2 separate regions of the Homo sapiens genome follow, and region 2 is linked to region 1. The links are contacts of gene promoters, found by promoter capture Hi-C in blood cells and fetal thymus (Javierre and others, 2016). All regions are on one chromosome and are shown on one strand. Each heading gives the region's core, a stretch centred on a gene start or on the middle of the fragment in contact. The rest is flanking DNA. Distances are from core to core; before and after follow the strand shown.

Evidence for each region. Contacts are between HindIII fragments. The CHiCAGO score rates a contact against its expected background, and 5 or more counts as called.
Region 2: a contact is called between a fragment that was not itself captured here and the fragment with the promoter of LUM in region 1, in 2 of 17 cell types (fetal thymus and total CD4 T cells). The highest score is 6.0, in fetal thymus.

What each region holds. Positions count from the first base shown.
Region 1 is chr12:91,109,837-91,112,904 of GRCh38, forward strand. LUM (lumican) reads right to left here and starts at 1,658. Exons shown (of 3, transcript NM_002345.4): 1 at 1,562-1,658. The HindIII fragment of the contact is 5,015 bases long and covers 421-3,068 here.
Region 2 is chr12:92,658,126-92,661,193 of GRCh38, forward strand. No RefSeq gene overlaps it. Among named protein-coding and RNA genes, the nearest start is that of PLEKHG7, 43 kb to the right of the region's middle. The HindIII fragment of the contact is 973 bases long and covers 938-1,910 here.

The DNA of each region.
Region 1 (3,068 bases), core at 408-2,907:
CTCTACTTTCTTCATGCCAAAATCGAAGATGCCATGGTTTGCATATCTGGCTTTTAGTGGCCTCACAGAATGGAGGTGGGAGAGAGGTGTGATGTTTTTAAAGTTTGGATTTAATACTGGTGTTAGAACTATCTAGTAAATTATTCAATTGAGAATATGAATTTGAAATAATGTGTAACAGTTATCTTCTCATAGGAACATGTTTCTAAGGTGAGGCTCAAAAAAGTACATTTCAATGTCTTAGGTGCAGCAATTTAGATATGGGAAAATTGGAATATAAGAGTTAGACTTTTATAGAGTGAACAGTTGTGGCTGAGGCAAAGTTGGTAGCCCTGGGAGATAAATCATTAATGTGACGAAAGATCTACATTCTAATAGATAACTGAGAATATTATATCTTTCTATGAAAGTATGATTACAAGCTTTTGGATCAAAGTAGTTTGGGATAAGCAGGATCTTTGGGGTTAGAAACTGAAAACGTCTTTTATTTGTTTTAATTTGAAATTGTAAGGCACTTTATTTCAGATCAGATGGAACGTTATAAAACAGCTTTTAGAAATACTTTGATTGCTGACATAAGGTAACATGTAGCCAGATTCTCAGTAAATTACTCTCTAAGATTTTAATGGGGGCATTTAATTTTGCTGACAGAACTTGGCCATAATAATAATTGCATAGCACTAAAAAGAACGTGATGACATATTCCCAGAGTTATTTTAAGTTATAGAATGTAAATACTGTAAAGATTTGTCTTGCTTTATTAATAAGCTATTTTAAATTTACTATACACCAAAATATGGCAACTATAATGTGAGTATTAAATAGTAATGAAAAATGCTTCCATATTTTTTGGCAAAGTAAAAACAAGGATGCTGAATTGAATGAGAGTTTGCAACCATATAATGACTCCACTATGAGGCAAAATCACACTGTACTACCCTCAGTTTTTTCAAATACCTGTGGCTATAGAGAAAATGCTGTTTTCAAAAACGAAATCATTTCCCAGAACTTTTTAAAAAACTCGTTCCTTAAGGCATATATCCAAGAAACAAATTTTTTAAATTAACAAAACAGAAATAAATAATCCATAAGAGTTCCTAAATCTTTTAGCTCATGTTTTATAACATAGAACGTTTATTGTAAATTATAACAAATTGTCACAATATGCTTATTAAAAGATATTTTGAATGCTGATTAAAATGACTTTTCTTTGCTCCAGTATTAGGGTCCAATACTAACATATATAACTAACTAGCATACATAACAAACATATTAATTTCTATATTTTTTCACTGTGTCTACTTTAACTATTTTCTCATTCTAACCTTGAAACTTTTTATAACTTCTCTTGCCAAGCAATACAGCATATACTGTATAAAATCTCAAATCTATAAATCATGGAAAACATATTAACAAAATGTGAAACTAAATGCTCAGAACTGTGGATTTGCTGTTGAATAGCAATTGGCAAAATTGCTCTGGAATTTTTCCTGTTCCTGTTACAAAAAACGCTGTCCCAAACAGTTAACATCCCCAGTGCAATAGTTAAAACAGCACTTACCTTACTGTCTTGACACTGCTTTCGTTAATTCTTAAAGCAGATGCACTATGGACAAGAATCCACCAATATATGCTGTGAACTCTGTCAGGACGGAACTGGCTGCCAGATTCTGAGTGATACAAGAGCTGAAGGGGGGTGGGGAGACCCAGCCCAGTCACGCCAGTCTCTGAATGGAGTTATGTCATTGTGGGGATCTTGTGGTGTGGCATGTGAACACTGCTCTCTAACGAAGTGCAGGTGAACGTGGGGAGAAAGGACAGCCCAGCTCATTCCCTATGGAATGGGAGAGAGATATGTGTTTAACTAGCTCAAATACCATAGCTTTTAACCAAGAATTGAGTCCTGCTTCAAATAAGGAAGCTCACTGTGAGAACATTTTTCTTACAAGCCTCTTTACATCTGTGGCTGTGGCAACAATTAAGTGCAATGTGCTCAGCCAACTATCATGTTTATCTAAAGATCTCAGAAATCATAAGCAGGGCAAATAATTTCAGGAAAACGCAAATGAACAGACTCAGAGGAATTGAATCCCTTTGCCTATCACTTTTGAAATCAATATTGATTTACTTGGACTAACTTAATTTTTTGGCCATGAGGGTAGCTTACATTAGTTTTAAAAATATAAAATATGCTTCATATACACTTGGATACACATGATAAATATCAACATTTCAAGTTTACTTCTAATGCTAAGGAGACTCATTTTATGTTATTCAGGTCTGGAACCAATCAGCAAAGTCTTGCCTGTTTTTTATTTTGTGGATTTCGTTTAGGAATTCACCCAAAACCTTACTTGGGGAGAGCATTCTATAGCTTAATGCCAAAAAACATAAAAGAACAGAGAAAAAAATAAATTTATACTAAAAGTATCACAAGGCAAGAATCTTTCATTGCATGCTAGTAATTTTTTTTCAAAGTTAAAAGTTATTCAAAGTTATAATCTCCCAAAGGCCTGGCTGGATATATCTTTCATTATCAGCTCCTGATGCATGGTTTCAGCAAATGAGAGATGTACTTAAATCCTTGTCTATTTCATTTTGTGATTTTATCAGATATATTTATGAGATTTTTTTCTAAAATGTTCATTTCCTCATGTTTATAAGAACTTTTACACCAATATATTTTAATATAAGTTGTCACATTGTATTTTTGTCTTTAAAAATAACTATATCACATTTTAGCAGTGAGACTTGTGGAAAATTAACTCCATGACTAATACTGCATTTGTCCGAAAAAAAGACTATTAGAATAAATGGCTTATTTTTGTAATAGCAGTGTTCAAAAACAAAAAGTAATCTTCTTGAAAGTAACTAATGGAATTGTAAGATGATTCATAAACATAACATTTTTCCTAATATTATTTTAAGAAAATTATTGATAGGCCTCAGTTTCAACAAAGTAACTGAATAAATTTATAAGGAATTAAGAAAAAAAGACAAATCAATCGAATATAATTAAGTGATCTTGTTATAAGAGGATTCTTAAAACAATGCTATGTATTAATTTT
Region 2 (3,068 bases), core at 174-2,673, 1.5 Mb after region 1:
AAAAAAAAGAGTATTTCTCTGGTTCCATGAATAAACCATTGCTTAAATCATTCTCAAACTATAATGTGTATAAAATTCACCTGGAATCTTGTCAAAATGCAGATTCTGATGCAATAGTTCTGGGTAGGGCCTAAGATTTTGCGTTTCTGACAAACTCCCAGGTGACACCAATGCTGCTATTCTATGAACTACAGTTTCAACAAGGTCTTACCCGACGGCTTCCAAATTTCCTTCTCCTTTTCCTTCTCCATGGAGAGCCCTCTTCAGAGGGACTCTTAAGAATTATCTCATCCTATTCCATTTATTACTCTACAGGGAGAGGCAACCTAACCTGGCTTTAACCATAACTACTTGCACAATGAGGAGGAGCAGATTTCCCATCTCTGATTCGCAGATGGGAAACACTGTGGCAGGTAAGGGATTTCATCAGGGCTGCATGGCAAGTAGCTGAATTCCGTAACATATGAAGAATTGCTTCCATTTCTACATTTCTTGTTAAAAGACTCAGAGGATGTTGAGCACTTAGAAACAAGCTGAAGAGCATGTCTGGCCTGAGCCCGATGAAAGTCAGAGTCAATAGCGTAAGCAAAGGACCAGGCACATTCCCTGTTCCTTTCCCTGGTCTCTGCTTCTCATTTCTTAATCTTTGCTCATACTCAACCAGGCTACCAGCAATCTGGAGACACATATGGATGGAAAAGATGCCAAGGGAAGCCCTCCCCTCCTTCCATGATTACTGTCCTTCATTGCAAAAGAAACTCTTTTTAAATATGCCTGGAAAGCAGTACCTGTTGTTTTTTATGTGGGTAAAGGCCAGTGGTATGCTACAAATGTTTAACAACTGACCATCAAAAAAAAAAACAAAACAAAAAGAGGCCCTCTTTTGTAGCATTTGCCAGTTTCCATGGTGTAAATACTCTCACTCTGGCCAATATCAAGCTTCCAACATGACTTTACTGAACATGGAATTAGAAAGATATGAGGCCAGTGACTCTCACAAGCTAGTATGAGCCGGCCGCAGTTCATCATGATAAAGCCTATAATTTTATCATCAGGCAAAATTAAAACTGTAGATTCAGAAAAGATTTACACCTGTTTGATCAACCTTCTCATCATCACGTCCCTTTACTACCAAAGTAAGTTGACCTGCCATTGCTCTTTAACAGTTGGTAGTTTTTCTTTAATGCAAGGTATTTAGCAGAAACCACCACATAAATTAAGCCCTTGTCCTATAGATAGCTTTTACAAAGAGCTTTCCTTGATCCCTATTGAATTATTGCCCTGGACCAGAGAAATACAATGCCCTTCCCAACAGTTTAATGTATTTAGTAACCCTCTGGAAAGAGAAAAATAACAAAACAAAACATTACAATTTTACATGTTGAAATTAAAATGAATCAAAACTTTTTTTTTTTTTTTGAAACAGGGTCTCACTCTGTTGCCCAGACTGGAGTGTAATGGCCCATTCATGCCTCACTGCAGTTTCAACCTCCTGGGCTCAAGCAATCCTCCCGCCTCAGCCTCTTGAGTAGCTGGGACTACAGGCACATGCCACCATGCTCAGCTAATTTTTTGTCTTTTTAGTAGAGACAAGGTTTCACCATATTGCCCAGCCTGGTCTTGAACTCCTGGGTTCATGTGATCTTCCCACCTTGGCCTCTCAAAGTGCTGGGATTACAGGCATAAGCCATCACACCTGGCCCTCGAACTTTTTATTATGTTCTAGTTATACATTGTATGAAACTTTTTCAGGCATTGAAATAAATGCCTTTATACCACTTAAAGGAAATGAGAAAATTTTTTGTACAAGAACAAAAAGATCATATGGCTGTGTTGAATGACAATATTTCTTAAAAATTTATTAGTGATCAATTTCTATTCATTTAAGAATAGTTTGAAGTTAAAATGTAAGCTTTAGGAGATATGTATTCTTTGACAGATTTTAAGGGTTATGGAAATCAAAACAAGTTTGGTAAGTGGCTATAGTAGATTGCCAAAATTTTCACAAATTATTCCCTTCCTTAACAGCTACGTCCTTTGCAATATAGCTTTGCAATTTCTCCCATCAACAGGTGGAGTTGGTCTTGTGCCTTCTTTGGCCAATGGAATGTGACAAAGCAGCATTGCAGTTCAAGCCTAGGCTTTAAGAGACCTTTTGGGATTTCCTAATTGCTACAAAAAAAACCTGACACCAGGTGAGTAAACCCAGGGTAGCCTACTGGGGGATGAGAGACCACCTGGGACAAAGATGAACCATCCCAGGTAAGCTTTGTACCCCAACCACCACGACACACCAGCCAGGCTCCAGCTGACCTAGCACCTTCTCACACCTGAGCCCAGCTCAAATCGCCAAACCACAAATTCTTCCAAAATGGGATGTTGATTTACACCAGGGGTATCCTATCTTTTGGCTTCCCTGGACCACAAGGGAAGAATTGCCTTTGGCCACACATAAAATACACTAAGGATAGCTGATGAGCTTTAAAAAAATTGCAAAAAAAATCTCATAATGTTTTAAGAAAGTTTGCAAATTTGTGTTGGGCCACATCCAAAGCCATGCTGGGCTGCATGTGGTCCCGTAGGCCATGGGTTGGACAAGCTTGATTTATGCCATTGAGCTTTGTAGTGCTTTAATAGCTAAAACTAATTGATATAGTCACCTATATCAGGAAATACTCAAAATACACCCCAACCATATGCTGTATGTAGACCTTTTTGGAGGCTGATTGAAACCAAACCAACTTCTTAAGATAACTGAGGAAATTTAAAATGGTATGAGTATTAGACAATATTGAGGAATTATTGCCCCTTTTGTGAGATGTGGTAATGATATTGTACTTATGTTTTTAAAAAGTCCTCATCTGTTAGGGACATACAAAATTTATACATGCATATATGAAATAAATATGTACCTACACACATACATAAACACATACACGCTGAAATATTTAGGGGTGAAATAACTTTATGCTTGGAATTTGCTTTAAAATACTCCAGCAATTAAAAAAAAAAAGAGCAGGAAGCAGGGCATAGAAGAGAGGAAAATAGGCGAAATGTAACGGTGATAA